2 separate regions of the Homo sapiens genome follow, and region 1 is linked to region 2. Evidence: promoter capture Hi-C in 16 types of primary human blood cells and fetal thymus (Javierre and others, 2016). All regions are on one chromosome and are shown on one strand. The core of a region is centred on a gene start or on the middle of the fragment in contact, and the rest is flanking DNA. Distances in the headings are between cores, read along the strand shown.

Region 1 (7,768 bases), core at 4,949-7,448, 510 kb after region 2:
TAGAGAATCATAGCAGTTTATAATTACAGACTCATTGGATTATAAACTCTTAGAATCACAGAACCTTAGAATCACAGTGTCTGTTAGAGAAGTATCAGATCTATGAATTACAGAATTTTAGAATTATAGGCTTTTAGACATAGCCTTGAAGAATTTCAGAGGCAAAAAGGGATTTAGAGGCCATTTGGCCCTACTCCTTGCTCAGTCCTATTCACACACACACACACACACACACACACACACATGCGTGCAAGCGCGCGCGAAACCTCTCGGTAACCCTGTGCTTATGTCTAGACAACGCAGTCTAATTTTATCGTTCCTTACATCCCCTAGAGCCGCCGACCTCCTTTTCTGTCTCCCCTCTCTGCCTGCCTCTCATCATTACAAATTCCTACCAGCCCCCTGTTTTTCAAGGGAGAGCTTGCTTTTCGTTTTGCAAATCATCCAGCATCTTAATTCACCATGCCTGTGTCTTGCAGGACAAGGCTATTTCAGTGATTAACATATCAGGGAAACGAAGCCTTGGCTTCATTTGGGATATGGGAGGGAGAGCAGGAGGGACAGGCAGGGGTGTGTGTGTGGCCTCCTAGAAACAGCATCAAGCAGGCCCACATAGGAACCCATGCTGCCCATTCCCTCTTGGAAGGAGGTGGGAGCCACGACAGTGGCTGCAATCATGCAGCCTGGCCTATCTAGGTGAAAGGAGATTCGAAACTGTAAGCCATTTCATGCTTATTTATTTTATGATCCTCATGGGCTGGGTTTACACAGATCGGACAACATGTGGATTAGATAATTTGCTGGGAATTAACAGCCTCCGATGGTTATCAGTCTTGGGGATTAAAGCTGGGTTGATGACGATGGTTCAGTGATGAGTTGATGATGTTATCCATGTCCTCATCGGGGTTCAGAGAGACGTGGTGGCTCATCACCCAGTCATAAATCCCCACCGGGACAGCATAGTGGAAGAGGATGGTTAGGTATCAACTGGAGATTAACACTTGGGATTCTATTACATTTAGGAATAAACCAAAAGCAAAACAAAGTCGGCTTCAGAGTCAGCCTGGTAATTTAGAAAATATTGCCTTCGGAATGAATTCATCCCAAAGCTCTGTAGAAGAACTAGCCGAAGATAAACAATTTAAATATGAAACCTCCTGCTTTTTATTTAAGCACTATAAAGACAGAGTCTGTGCAGTGACCGCCAAAAGACGAGGCTATCTTCCTTGAATGATCTTTTCTCCAGCTCAGTTCCCATGCAGAATCTCCCAGCCCCAGGATCACGTAAAGCACCTCCTAGGGGAGGGAGCAGCCTGGGTTAGAAATGCTCAGAGATTGTGGCAATCTTCCCATAGATGAAGCATTGAAATCAACCGCTTTTGCTGCTTTCACATCTATTCTTTTATTATTATTATTATACTTTAAGTTCTGGGATACATGTGTAAAATGTGCAGGTTTGTTACATAGGAATACACGCGCCATGGTGGTTTGCTGCACCCATCAACCCGTCATCTATATTAGGTATTTATCCTAATGCTCTCCCTCCCCTAGCCACCCCCTCCACCCAACAGGCCCTTGTGTGTGATGGTCCCCTCCCTATGTCCACGTGTTCTCATTGTTCGACTCCCACTTATGAGTGAGAACATGTGGTCTTTGGTTTTCTGTTCCTGTGTTAGTTTGCTGAGAATGATGGTTCCCAGCTTCATCCATGTCCCTGCAAAGGACATGAACTCATCCTTTTTTATGGCTGCATAGTATTCCATGGTGTATATGTGCCACATTTTCGTCATCCAGTCTATCATTGATGGGCATTTGGGTTGGTTCCCAGTCTTAGCTATTGTGAATAGTGCTGCAATAAACATACATGTACATGTGTCTTTATAGTAGAATGATTTTTAATTCTTTGGGTGTATACCCAGTAATGGGATTGCTGGATCTAATGGGATTGCTGGATCAAATGGTATTGCTGGGTCAAATGGTATTTCTGGTTCTAGGTCCTTGAGGAATCGCCACACTGTCTTCCACAGTGGTTGAACTAATTTACACTCCCACTAACAGTGTAAAAGCATTCCTATTTCTCCACATCCTCTCCAACATCTGTTGTTTCCTGACTTTTTAATGATCGCCATTCTAACTGGCATAAGATAGTATCTCACAGATCTATTCTTTTTTTTTTTTTTTTTTGACAGAGTTTTGCTCTTGTTGCCCAGGCTGGAGTGCAGTGGCGCGATCTCAGCTCACTGCAACCTCCGCCTCCTGGGTTCAAGTGATTCTCCTGCCTCAGCCTCCTGAGTAGCTGGGATTACAGGCATGTACCACCATGCCCTGCTAATTTTGTATTTTCAGTAGAGACAGGGTTTCTCTATGTTGGTCAGGCTGGTCTCAAACTCCCAACCTGAGGTGATCCACTTGCCTTGGCCTCCCAAAGTGCTGAGATTACAGGCATGAGCCACTGTGCCTGGCCTGACACATCTATTCTTAATAAACCATTTAGTTTAGAAACTGCAAAGCCACACAGCTAACCAAATTGCAGTGCCCAACTGGTTCTAGGAATACCATTTCGATGTAGCCGAGATTTTTCCAACACCGAAATGCGTGCCGGAGAGGTAGAGGATAGTCAGGCCAAACCCGCCTGCCATGCTGTGTGCCTTTGGGCAAGTTAGAGCTCCTTTCTGGTCCCCAGCAGGCCCACCCACAGATAGGTAGTTGGATTAAATAATCTAAATGTGGGAGCAAAAATATTAGAAACAGAAAAATTACAATTTGGCTTTATTCCTTTTCGTGAGTTGAATTTCAAATTAGTTAGGTGAGTATTTCTATTTATTTTAGAGGCAGTTCAACCAAGATCTGCTATTTTCATGGCTCTGGGTTTTGATTTCAGATGTGAAACAACAAAACCATGACCCCAAACTTCCTAGACTGTTGGCTGCAGCCATTGTACACAGTTTTCAGTGGTGTGGCATATTGTTAACACAAATGACAAATGTCATTACCTCCTCAATTCTGAAAGAAGTAAGAAAAGAAATGGGGAGTGAAAACGAGCTAATGGAATAGCACACTAGGTGTCAAGAGGCCTCATTCTATGACTCTCAGTTTCCCCATCTGTAAAATGGGGAGCGGGTGGAGGCCGGAGAAATCTAGAGGTTGTCTTCCGGCTCTGAAACAAAGTTTGAGTTTCTGAGGCTTCAGCCCTGATTCTAAACAAGGGTGTTGGGTGTGTTGTGCTCTGTTGCATCCATCTGCAGCTCTGCAGGGGCCACCCCTACTGATTCTGGAGATGGGAGGGGTGGGGCTGAGGAAAATGGAGAGTCTTTACAAAGGGCACAATGGTAAATCCCCGATTTCTGGACAAGTCCCTTTCACTGTGAGCCTGAAAGGCCAAGGAGGGGTGGGCAGGGTGAATGGGCTTGGGGGTGGGTGGGTGAGTACCCTCTTGCCACAGCCCCATTGAAAGTTGGTGGACCTGTCAGCAATGAAAGGAAGTGAGTTAAAGAGGCAAGTGAGGGGGCTGTGCTAGGGGCTCAGCAATCCCCCGACACGGATGAGGGACAGAACCGCAGCCTCGGTCCAGCCCACGTGGACTGCCTGGCAAGGCTGCAGGGCACAACGGGTCCTCCATTGGGACTTTCTGCCCTCTTGATTTGAATCCCAGTTTTAAACCTGTGACAATATTGTGTGTCCTTTCATGGTGGATTTGGCCGGGATTTATGCCTGAAACTCATGGAACTGCAATTCTCTGGAAAAGCCGAGGCTGGTGGTGAGGTTGGGGAGTGGGGCTGGGGTGATTGCAGGGCTCGGACCAGTCCATTTCATCAAAATATCTAATCTGGAAAGCTACACACCAACCAGCTCCACATCCACAGCTGACCGTGGCCGACAAACAGCCTGTCAGTTGAGTCCAGCAACGGGTCAGTTTAGATGAGCAACGGGCCAGTCCAATCAAAGCAATCAGTTCAGTTATAAAAATGGTAGCGGGGAAAGGAACAACAGAAAAACAACAATACCAGCAGTTCCGTTTTTACAAAGTGACCGTGCAACTTTCTTGACTATGTACAGGGAAGCAACCAAGCGGTTCCCCAACACAAGCTCAGCCTTGTCCGGTCAATCACTTGGCAGGTCTGGAGGTAGAAGCATTCAGAAATGATCCTGTGGTCCAGTCTGACCCCCTGTCTCATGCCGTGGAACCTCAGAATTACGACATTGTCAGAACTGGTAGAGTGGGGCTTGGGATTCATGCAGCCTCACCCCTCCTCATCCCAGGGGTTACAAAGAGTCTAGGGTCCTTACCAAGATGCCATGGCACTTCAGGAGATTCCGCTTCTCTCTCTGAGCTGAATGTCCCTCAGTGGCAGCTAGTTCTTCCTTGTGTCTAACCAGAGTCTCTCTCGCTGCAGGAGCAGCTTGGATGCTCCTCCTCATGGCCAGTCTCCAGAGGTGAGTGTGCTGGGATCCTGGCCTGGGGGTGGGCTGGTGACCCCTCTTCCCTGAGGTAGCAGAGGCCTGGAGGGCCGTCTCTGTGTTTGGTGAATAAACATCAGAGTCCAGTTGCCGGCCTGTCACTCTGCAGCCTTTCAGCGTGTGAGAGGCCAGGTGGGCCAGAGGGAGTTCCCATGGGCGGCATATGAAGAGGCCGGGGTCTGCGGGGGCTGTGGGGGGCTGTGGGGACTGTGGGGGCTGCAGGGGCTGGGGCCCAGGCAGGTCTGCTTTGGATAGCCAGTAGAATCAGCTTTTGCAGGCCATGGAACTTCACACCTTTGAAAGGCTCCAGAGCGGCCCACAGAAAAAATAAACCGTTCCTCCCATCCGTGGCAGATCGGCCATCCTTAGGGGCTCCCGGTCATGCACATGGAAACCCTGTAAAAGGGCCCAGTGTTTCCTTTGCCACTCCCTGAAAGGATATGGGCTGAGTCTTGCCATGGCTGCTGGGGTCGGGCAAGAGTGCTTCATCCACACCAATGAGGCCTGGGGCCCAGCCCCACTCCCCTGGGACAGCCACCCCAGCCTCTGAGCCTTAGTTTACACATCTGGCAAGCAGGCATTAAAAAAAACCCACCTTAGGGTTTTGTGTGTGTGTGATGGCAGAATAAGGCATATATGTGTATGAACATACTTAGCACACAGTAGATGCATGATCAATGTCTTCCTCCTCCTGCTGTCTATGGAACCTAGAACAGGTCGGATTTCCTTTAGGAGCCACAGTTCACTTTCCCGGAAAGTGGGGTAGCATCTACGTGTGTCAGGATGAAATGAGACAAAGGGCTTAGCACAGGGCCTGGTACCAGAAGGTTCTGTTATAGTATAATTTCTTTTTTCTTTCTGTTCCTCCTCCCCTCTGGGTCTCGGGGACATCATCTTATAAATGGGAATGGTAATACTTTCTTGACCTACTAGGTCAAGAATGCTGAGGATAAACGCAATGCTACCAGCACTTGATGAGCTTCATTATGCTGCAGAACCATAGGAGAGACTAGATCTCAAAACACTTTGACAGCAAGAAGAAAGATTACAAGGCTTAGAGAGTCCTAGGAGTATTATGACAAGACTTAGATGAGGACATGGCTCTTGTCTCATCGAGTGATGGTTCAGGCAGGAATGTTGGGAGTCTTAAGGAGAAAGAAGGGTCCCTGCTTCTTGTTGGTACCAGGGAGGGCTTGCTGGAGGCATGGTTTGTCCAAAGCTATGGAGCTCTGTCTTTTCATGGGTCTAGTTTGTTGCAAATGCTTGAGGCCTAGGCTGCTGCTGGCTCCCAGCAAGTTGGGAGATGTCCCCAGAAGTGTCTGTGGTCTCTTGCCTGGGCTTTTCAGAGCTGCAAAGAGACAAACTAGGACCAAGGGGGTTAGAAGGAGCGAAAGTAAGAGCAGATCCCAGTGTGAGCTCTCCAGCCACAGAGCTGGCTGTCTCCAGTGGCAGTGAGCTCCCTGACACGGCAGGTGCCCAGCAGAGGCTGGAGGACCCTGTGACAGGTACTGAGGAGAGACTGTGGCAGTGGGTGAGGGGTAGGATTATCTGAGAGATAGGCTTGGAGTCAGGTACCCTGGGCTCCTCCTGTTCAAGCTTTGCAATTTACCCCTGTGACCTTGGATTAGTCTCCTACCTTTGCAAAGTTTGTTTCCTTATATGTAAATTGCCTGTAATTCCTACTTCCAAGAGTTGTTTTGGAGATTAAATGAGATAATGCACATAAGGTATTTAGTACAGTGTCAGAAACTTGGGGGCTCTCCCTGTCACAGCTTAGATTCTAAGATCTTACAGGCTGAAATTTGTAGGGGAAGGTTAAGATCCTATTCTTTGAGGATCTGGAATTATAGGAAATTGAATCCATTTATTTAACAGGTACTTATTTAAAGCTTATCCTATGCTGAATACTTTTATATGGGCTTTATAAATATTCATTGAGTCTTCACAACACTATGAGCTAGGTACTATTCTTACCCCCAGTTTATAGATAAATAAACTGAGGCAGAGAGAAGGTTAAGTAACTTGCCCATGGTCACACAGCTAAGGAAGTGATAGAGCTGAGATTGAAGTCTGGTTCCAGAGTCTATGCACGAAGATTCTAAAACCATGAGACTTTAAAACCATTCCATATTCCTAAGGTTACAGAGAATTTGAGATTATGGGACTTATATTAATAATTGCAAATGTCCAGGATGAAACAGTTCTAGGGCATACTTTTTCTGCAAAGGACCAGGTTGTAAATATTTTCCTTTGGCTTGGCAGGCCATAAGGTCTCTTGTCACATTACTCAACTCTGCTGTTGTAGCCATATCTAAACAAATGGGTTCCAATAAAACTTTATTTACAAAAGCAGGTGGCAGGTGGATTTGGCCCTTGTGTTATAGTTTGCTGATCCCTGTTCTTGATGCATTGTCTGCTCTGCTGAGCGCCTTGGTGGGGGCTCCCTTCAGGACTGAGCCCCAGAGGAGCCCAGCTGTGCCCCTCATTTGGAGATGCAGAGGGGTCTGCGGGGGCCAGGCTGGCTCCCAGGGTGCGGGTGCCTCTGAGTGTGGCTCTCCCTTTCTGTCCTAAAGAGGCTGTTGAAAAGGCTCCTCTCTCCAGCAGTGGCGCCTCATTACTCATGGTTGGAAAACAATGTTAATTTCCCCCAAGCGGGAAGCAGCTGCACTTGTGAGCCAGGGCTCATTTTGCTGCATGAATATTTATGGCATGTCCCCTAATTAAGCTCAGAAATAAAATTTATCCTGCTAACAGGGTCCACAGAAGACTGGAAGGCCATGTCAGGAACCAGCCTCTTATGCCTGTGAAGTAGGTTTGTCAATGAAACATTTGTTTCCAGAGCCACTTGGCCAGGGACAGTGTCCACAGTAGCATTTCCTGGAAGGTCAAGCACCCTTTGTGTAGTCACATGCTTGTGCAAGGGGACACCTACACTACCTTGCTGAGCAGTGATGGATGGCTATTGTCCCAGGCCTGCATGTGGTGACACAGAGGTGACTCTAGGCCAGAGCCCTTAGCAATACTTCTTTTCTTTTAGCCAGTGTGACTCAGGTATTTTCTGATTGGGTGTCAAAGGCCACTCCAGTATAAATAGCCCAGTGAGAAAGCGCCCTGGAGTGGGAACCAGGAAAGATGGGTTTGAGTTGCTCCCCTGACACTGATTCTAGCTGACCAGGGGCCGGCCTGCCTGCTCTCCCAGCCTCAGGCCCCCATTTCGTTAAAATGATGGCGGACTGTCAACATCATGTAGTTACTGGGAATCATGGGAGACCATGGAAGATAAAGTCTTTTGGGGAATGATTCTCACCAT
Region 2 (7,858 bases), core at 1,268-3,767:
TATGCTGAAGGCCCTCAGCCAGCTGCCAGGAGCAAGGAGACATTGTGGGGAGGCAGGGGTGGGATACAGCCCATCTGACCCACTTATGCATCTTAAGCTCCACCGAGCTTAGGAAAAGGAGGGAGCTGGAGGAACAACAGAGGCTCAGAGAGAAGGGAGTTGGAAGGAGTGAGAAGCCAAGGAGGGAAGAGCCTCAGTGCTGTATCTAGGCAGCCCAGAGCCTCTTTCCCTCCCGCAGGTGGGTCACATGCAGCCCCAGGGACCAAAGGGCAGCCCCCTGGACAGCCGGCCTAGGCCTTGCAGCTGGGAGTGGCTCCCAGAAGGCTGAGGAGGACCCACAGCTGACAAGACTGGTCTGGGATCTAGAAGATCCTGTTCTGTAGCAAGACGTTTCTCTGATGGTAGGAAGGGTATGAGAGTGGGAGACTCTCAGGGCTGCTCAGCTGGGGAGATCTGGGGTGCCTGGGGTACCCAGAGAGAGGAGTGGACCAGGACATCTTTAGAAGGGCAGAATGGAGGGGTGAACTCTACTCTGGGTCTTGGGGACCAGGAAAGAAGCCTCAAAACCTGAGCTCCTTTTGATTCCCCCAGCTGGGTGCCCAGGGACTAGGGCCAGAGATTAGGTTGAGGCCCCAACCTGCACCCTTCTCTACTTTTTTTATTTTTTAATAGAGACAGGGTCTTACTACGTTGCCCAGGCTGGTCTCAAACTCCTGGGCTCAGGCGAGCCTCTGGCCTTGGCCTCCCAAAGTGCTGGGATTACAGGCATGAGCTACTGCACCAGGTCCCTTCTCTGCTTTTTGACCCTTGACACCAACACAGTCCCTCAAGATTTTCCTGAAGTCCCTGCCTTCAGGCCTCTGCTTCCCCAAAGGACTTTCCTCTTCCCCAGCATCACTGCACTCCATGAGCCTGCAGGAGCTCAGCCTTGTAGAGAAAAGACCCTCAGCGGGGAGAAGTCCCAGGACAAAACACAGGTCAGCAGGGGGCTTCAGAGGGGTCCTGCCTCCAGGCCAGAATATACCTGCATCCCTATATTTTGAGGGACCCAAGCTGGACATGAGAAAACCTTCCTCTGGCTCACTCCTGCTCAAATGTCCTCCTTTGAGTCTACCAAAAGCTCTCCTGCTGCAGTGGAGGCCTGACCTCTTCTCCGAGCCTGGCAAATATTGGGAAGGAGGAAGGAGGCTAGGAACTCTCTGGCCTGTAGTGAGGTCAGACCTCACTTATCTCCAGGGGAAGCAGAAGACACACAGTGTGATTACCCTCAGTTCCACACCTGCCAAAAAGCAGTATTTGGGAGTCATTGTTTCCCTAGGGGTTCAGACTGCTCCCTCAGGTCAGTGGTTGCTCAAGCATGGGGAGTTAGGGCTCAACCCTTGGAGGCCCCTCCCTGTTTCCTCCTAGACCCTGCAGCCAATTCTCTCCAGTCACCCCAGGGACCACAGTCCCTGCTCCTCCTCCCATGCACATACAGCAAGGGGCAGTGTCTGGGGCAGGAGAAAGGTGGTCTGAACCCTGTCCTTTCTTGCCGTGCTCTGTGACTCAACCTCTCTGGTCTGCAGTTCCCCAGAGGGCTTCCAAGACCTGGGAGACAGAGTTGAAGCAGACACACATAAGAGCTCGGGGTGGGGGTGGGAGGGGAGCTCTGAAAGCATCTTTGCCAGTCCCCTCTGGACCAAGTCCCACCTGCAGAGTCCCCAGACTTTGGCTGCAGATGCAGCCTGACAGTGTAGAATGAAAGCCAGACCTTGGGTTAGTTACTTCACCAGGTGCAAAGCCCTTCTTCACCTCTGACCTGGCAGCAGCCCTGGGAGGTGGGCAGGGTGGGGTTTATTGTTCTCATTTTATAGGTGAGAAAACTGAGTCTCAGGAAGGGGCAGTGATTTGCTCAAGGTCACACATCCATTCAGGCAGAGCAGGACGAAGAGGTCAGATATTTGGGGGAGTCACACTGGGCACTGTTCTCTATCCAAGCCCAAGAGGCCGAGACAAAGCCCAAGTCTTTGAGGGGTGGCTTGGGCCCCACTCTCACCCTACTTGTACCCCCGGGTCCCCTGTACTCAGGACCCAGCCATCCCTTGGGCAATGCCTGCTCTTGGGGCTTGGGCCTCAAATCCTGTTCCTCCCTGAGATCCTAGAACCAACTGCTGCCAGTTTTCACTCGTTGAAAACAAGTGACAGGCAGAGACTTGGTTCAGAGGTCTCTGCCTTGGGACATTCTTTCAGCTAGCGCAGTCCCTGCTCCCCCTCCAAACTGTAAGTATCAAGGCCCTGGGGAGGGGAGCCAGAACACCACCTGTCCACCCCTGGGTCTCCCGTGCCCAGCCCTCTCCTCCTGAGCTACCTTGCTGACAGCTGGCAGGTGGCACTGCCGTGAGCAGGCCCAGAATGAGGAGGCTGAGGGCCGACATGGCTGCAGCAGCTCCTAGCCTTGCTTCTGGCCGCCGGTGTCTGGGCTCCTGGAGCTGCTGTGGAGTCTATTGGTGTCCGCCTGAAATCAACCTGGGCTCAGTCTGGCCCTGGAGGAGAGGAGCTAGGAAGGAGGAAGGCGAGGGAGGGAGGAGACACGAAGACGGGCGTCGGAGAGAACGTGCCCTCCCTCCCATGGTAATGAGCTGCCAGACCTGGCCTCCCCTGGCTGGTGCCCAGCTCACTTGGGCTGGCATTCGAGGTCATCTTCCAGGGGCCAGCTAAGGAGGTGGGTATGAGGAACAAGCAGATGTGGGAGAGTCCCAGCCTCACCTCCATGCCCTGAGCTCCCTTTTCCTGGCAGTGGGGCTGGATTCTAGGGAAAGGGGTGACACACAGTCGCTCCTGCCTTGACTGAGCCCAGTGGGCGGGGCTTCTTGGAAGGCTGACAGTGGGATTAAGAAATGTCCTGGCTGGCTCAGGAGCCTGGGGAAAACCCCAGAAGCCCAGAGAAGGCTCAAAGCTGCCAGACTCCGCCGAGAGCCTGGCCTATTTCCTGTTCTCCCCACCACCTGCCCCTGCCCCGCCAAGCTAAACTCTGGGACTCTAATGCTGGGACACACTACGGCTTCAGTGCCTTCCACGCCCTGGCCCAGCCCAGTAGCTTCCTAAATCCACCCCCTTCTGCAAAGATCTCAATAGAGGGCCTGAAGGTCCCAGTCCCCAGCTTTCACAGCCCATGCCCAGGCCCTGACCCAGCACAGCTAACCTAGTCCCAGTTCGGTTCTTCCTCTTGGCCCCAGATGTGGTCCCTGGAAACCGGGCAGGGCCTCAAAACAAGATACAGCCTTGGTCAGAGGCTTCAACACCCAACTTCAGATCCATCTCCACCCATGGCAGAGGAGAAAATGGGCAAACACAGCCTGCTGTGGGGGACAAAGGACGGACACCCCAGATGGCAAGGTGCGATCTGGGGCCCTGAAGCCCTGGGCCCGTCACCCTCATAGCCAAAAGCAGCATTGAGGAAGGCACACCTAGCCCCTGGAACAGGGAGGCCCTGGAGCCAGAGCCCTCGGAAGAGGCAAAAGCCTCCCCAGGATCACGTGGTGTCCACCTGGCCCTCCAGCTCAGGGAATGAGAATGGCCAGAGTTCCTGTGCAAGCCCCTGACCAAGGGTCATGCTGGTCTCCTTGCCCCACCCCCCACCCCAGAAGTATGGGAAGCTGAGATGCTGACTCCCTAGAAAGGAGCGGGCCAACTGGAACAAAGTCTCATCAGAGATGGAAGGTCCCCAGGAGCCAGCACCTGAGCTGAAGGCACCTCCACAGCCTCTCTTCCCTGAAGCCACCAAACTCCTATTCATCAGGCCTCCTGGGCAACCCTTCCTATGGCAGGTTGATTCTGCCTTCCTGCTCCAGCGGGAGCACTCAGACATCATGCCTCAGGCCTGCTTCCTGTGTGTGTGTGTGTGTGTGTGTGTGTGTGTGTGTGTGTGTGTGTGTGTGGTGTGTGTGGGTGTGTGTGTGTGTGTTCACATGCGTGTGCAGTCGGGCCCATTGCCATCCAAAGATGGAGTGTCTCAAGGTGATCTGGGAGAACTTTGCTTGGAGTTGAGTGATGCCTCCCAAACATGTATATCCTGGCCTCCCTCCCACACCCAACTTGGTGTCCTCAGAATCTTCTAACACAGACTGGAGTAAGCACTGTGCATGTTAATGAACAGCCAGAGAATCACTGATTGGAATGTAAGGAATGGGGCTGAATTTAACAAACATCTACTGGTGCCTTCTCCAAGAATTTTAGGGAGGAGAGTCACATGGTTAGTTTTGCGTTTGGGAAAACACCTCTCCATGCAGTGTGGAGAGTGAAAGGGGCATGCAAAGGCTGGAGAAGAGAAATCCAGGGATCTGCTACAGTGGCCACAACACCAGTGCCTGGACCTGGGCAGGAAGTGCCCATGGGAACAGATCTGAGCCCTGTTGAGGAGGTAGAGAAGCCGGGGTGTGGCTGCTGGAACACAGTGCCAAGCTGGGAGAATGGGTACAGGCAGGAGGCAGGGCTTCAGGTGACTCCCAGGTTTCTGGCGTAGGCAGCTGGGTAGATGCTAGTGCCTCAGTAGGGGCCAGAGCAAGTTTGGGGGGTTGGAGGATTAATGAGCTATAGATTTTGAGGTATTATGCTTGCAGTGCCTGTGGACTTTCCAGAGGGAGACATCTGGAAGGCTGCAAAATCCCTGCATCTGGAGTGGAACATCTGGGAGCCGTCTGCAGCACAGGGATGGTAACTGAGGCCTGGGAGCTCATGGTCTCCCCAGTGTGTGTAGCGGGGGTAGGGGTGTTGAGGGGAGAGCACAGAAAGAAGGAGACACGCCCCCAACACACAAAGGTCTTTCAAAGGAAGAAGGGGCAGGAGGAAACAGGAGGAAGCAACCCCAGGAAAGTGGGGTATCCCAGGAGCCAAGCAAGGACAGACTTAAGGAGGGTGGGGGGGTCACAGCTGTGCCACCCCCTCCAACCAGTGCCCTCAGCACTCAAGTCCCAGGTTCTGCCTTCCCCACCCCAGTATCCTCCACTTCCCTGAAAAACCCAGGGAAAGGAAAGGATCCCCTGGGCTATGCTTTGGGAGTGGTGGGGGAAGGGGATGAACAGGAAGGACACCAGGTGATCAACAGGAGGAAAACATACCTCCTGGGTCAAAGTCCCAAGCTTTAGAGCAAAACAAGTTGTTCCAGAAAAGAGGGAGCATGGGTGGACACTTGGCTTTGAGGCTGGTCCCTCCTCCCTGGAGGTCTTCACACGGGTGGAGGGTCATCTCCCCAGCTGTATGGACACAGCCCTGATCCCCATGGTAACAAGGTGGGCCCCCCTACTGGTCTGGCTGGGGCCCAGGGTCTGGACTAAGGTCTCAGCAGCCCCACAGGGCTGCACCGTGTGTCCTGAGCAGCTGTTCCATCGACGTTCAGTTCCTCCTTCCTGTTCCAGCCCAGCTGTCACGCAAAACCATCAGGCCCCTTAGACAAGCCCTCCATCCAGCCAGACCTTATGCGATTGCCCTTCAGAAAAGCCAAAGTGGGCCTGGACTGTTTCCAGCAGTCTCCTTCCTCCCAACCCCATCTTGTCAGCCATTCCACTCACTGCCAGCAGGTGGCAGTGTCTAGCTCCAATACCAGACTGGGCGTGCAGGGAGCCAGTTTGCTGCTGAAGATTCTGCAACTTCCCCTCCCTCCAGCCCCCACTTTTGCCCTCCTCCAGGGGTGGTCTGAAGAAAGGGACGGTGGACATTGACATGTAAATAGTCTGGGAACAGCATACAGGGAGTGCTCAGGGCTCTGACATAGGGCAGCGTGGTGGACTACATTGCTAAGGAAGGCATCCTGGAGGAGGTAATGCAGGCAAAGTTAGCCAGAGTGTTGTACTCGGCAGACAGTCTGGGGAGAGGAATCCAGGCAAAGAGCTTAGCCTGAGAAAAAGTACAGAGAACATTCAAGAAGGGTGTTTAGAACACAAATATAAAAGCTTTCTTTTTTTCCCTCTCAGTGTCTCTCTCTGTCACCCAGGCTGGAGTGCAGTGGTTCAATCTTGGCTCACTGCAACCTCCGCCTCCTGGGTTCAAGCGATTCTCTTGCCTCAGCCTCCTGAGTAGCTGGGATCACAGGCGCCCACCACCACACCAAGCTAATTTTTGTATTTTCAGTAGAGACGAGGTTTCACTATGTTGGCCAGGGTGGCCTCAAACTCCTGACCTGAAGTGATCAGCCCGCCTCGGCCTCCCAAAGTGCTGGGATAACAGGCGTGAGCCACCGCGCCCAGCTCTTTACTAATTCTTATAATACTTCATCTTGTTAATATCATTGCTGTAAGCCAGAGAGCTCCTGGAGACCTTGTTTTATTCTTTCAAACGTATCTTGCTTAAACCCTTTTATGGCATTCATCAGCCCTTAAAATAATATGCAAACTTCTTTGCATGGGTTTGAGGGCACAGGCAATCTTCCTTACCCACCACTCCAGCTTGGTCTGGCCCCGGAGCCTCCTGTCACTTCCTAACAAAAGCCAAGCTCTTTCCCACATCAGAGACTTCTCTCCACTTGCTCTTTTCTCTGCCTGGAACACTCTTCCACTCCTATTTGCCCAGCAAACTGATCTTCCTTTACATCCCTTTCTTCAAGAATACTTCTTTACTTCCCTTCTCTCCCATCTGAAGTCACTCCCTTCTATGAGTCTCCTTTGCTCATCTCCTCACAGCCATGATCACAAGTTGCAATTACACACTGATTTGTATGTTTACTCATTTAATAACTGTCTCCATGGAGGGAAGGTATCATGTCTATCTCTCCCTCAGCAGCCAGTACTGAGCACAGTGCCTGAGTACACACTCGACACACATTTTATGAAATTAAATGTCAGTATATGCAGTGCCTACCACTGGCCTAACAAAGAGCAGAAGCTCAGAGAAAGGTTGTTCAATGAATAAAACATTTTAGCTGTAGTTGAGTCCTTGTCTCTCTCCACTCTCTATCTGTGGGGCAAGGACTGTGTCTGATTCATCTCTGTATGTGAAGGAGAAGACAAGGCAACCATTCCTCTGACAGTTAGAGCTGTTCAGCCTGATATGAGGGTGTCCTGGAGGGTGAGCTCTCCTTCCCTAGACATGTAAGAGCAGAGGCCATGGACCAGGTCACCCAATGAGGTGTCTGCAAAAGGGGTTTGTCTTAGTCTCTTTGTACCACTTTAATAAAAATACCCTAGACTGGGTAATTTATAAAGAACAGAAATTTACTTTCTGACAGTTCTGGAGGCTGGGAAGTCCCAGATCAGGGCACTAGCAGGCTTGGCATCTGGTGAGAGCTGCCCTCTGCTTCCAAGATGACACATCTTGCTGTGCCCTTACACGGTGGGAGGGATGGAAAGGTGAAAGGGGCAAGGACACTCCCTTCAACCCCGTTTTTGAGAACACTAATCCATTCACGGGGGTGAAGCCCTCCTGACTTAACCCCTTTCCAAGAGGTCCCAGCCCTCAATATCACCACCTTGGGGTTTAAGGATTTTTTTGTTTTTTTTTGTTTTCTTCGAGACGGAGTTTTTGCTCTCATTGTCCAGGCTGAAGTGCAGTGGCACAATCTCAGCTCACTGCAACCTCCCCCTCCTGGGTTCAAGTGATTCTCCTACCTCAGCCTCCTGAGTAGCTGGGATTACAGGCCCCCGCCACCATGCCCAGCTAATTGGGGTTTAAGTTTTAACATATGAATTTTAGAGGGACATATACTGAAACTGTAGCAGGGTTGTAGCCCTTCCAGGTCTGGAGCCTATGATCCTGTGATTCCGTTAACAGAATATGATAGCTTTTCATATTTTGATAAGGTCCCAAGGAAGCAGGCTGGTTAGGACTGTGGTGAGCCCCTCTCCTCTCAGACTTAAGAATTCATTCACCTGGCTCCCCTTCATGTAAC

The links. Contacts are between HindIII fragments. The CHiCAGO score rates a contact against its expected background, and 5 or more counts as called.
Region 1: a contact is called between a fragment that was not itself captured here and the fragment with the promoter of PDZK1IP1 in region 2, in 1 of 17 cell types (naive CD8 T cells). The highest score is 5.8, in naive CD8 T cells.

The regions. Positions count from the first base shown.
Region 1 is chr1:47,689,801-47,697,568 of GRCh38, forward strand. LINC01738 (long intergenic non-protein coding RNA 1738) reads left to right here. Exons shown (of 3, transcript XR_001738040.3): 2 at 4,395-4,434. It overlaps LOC124904174 (a long non-coding RNA gene), which reads right to left and starts at 4,628. Exons shown (of 2, transcript XR_007066067.1): 1 at 4,288-4,628; 2 at 721-1,296. The HindIII fragment of the contact is 293 bases long and covers 6,053-6,345 here.
Region 2 is chr1:47,187,519-47,195,376 of GRCh38, forward strand. PDZK1IP1 (PDZK1 interacting protein 1) reads right to left here and starts at 2,518. Exons shown (of 4, transcript NM_005764.4): 1 at 2,348-2,518. The coding sequence starts at 2,414. RefSeq lists a silencer at 2,799-3,093 and an enhancer at 3,923-4,872. The HindIII fragment of the contact is 10,710 bases long and covers 1-5,115 here.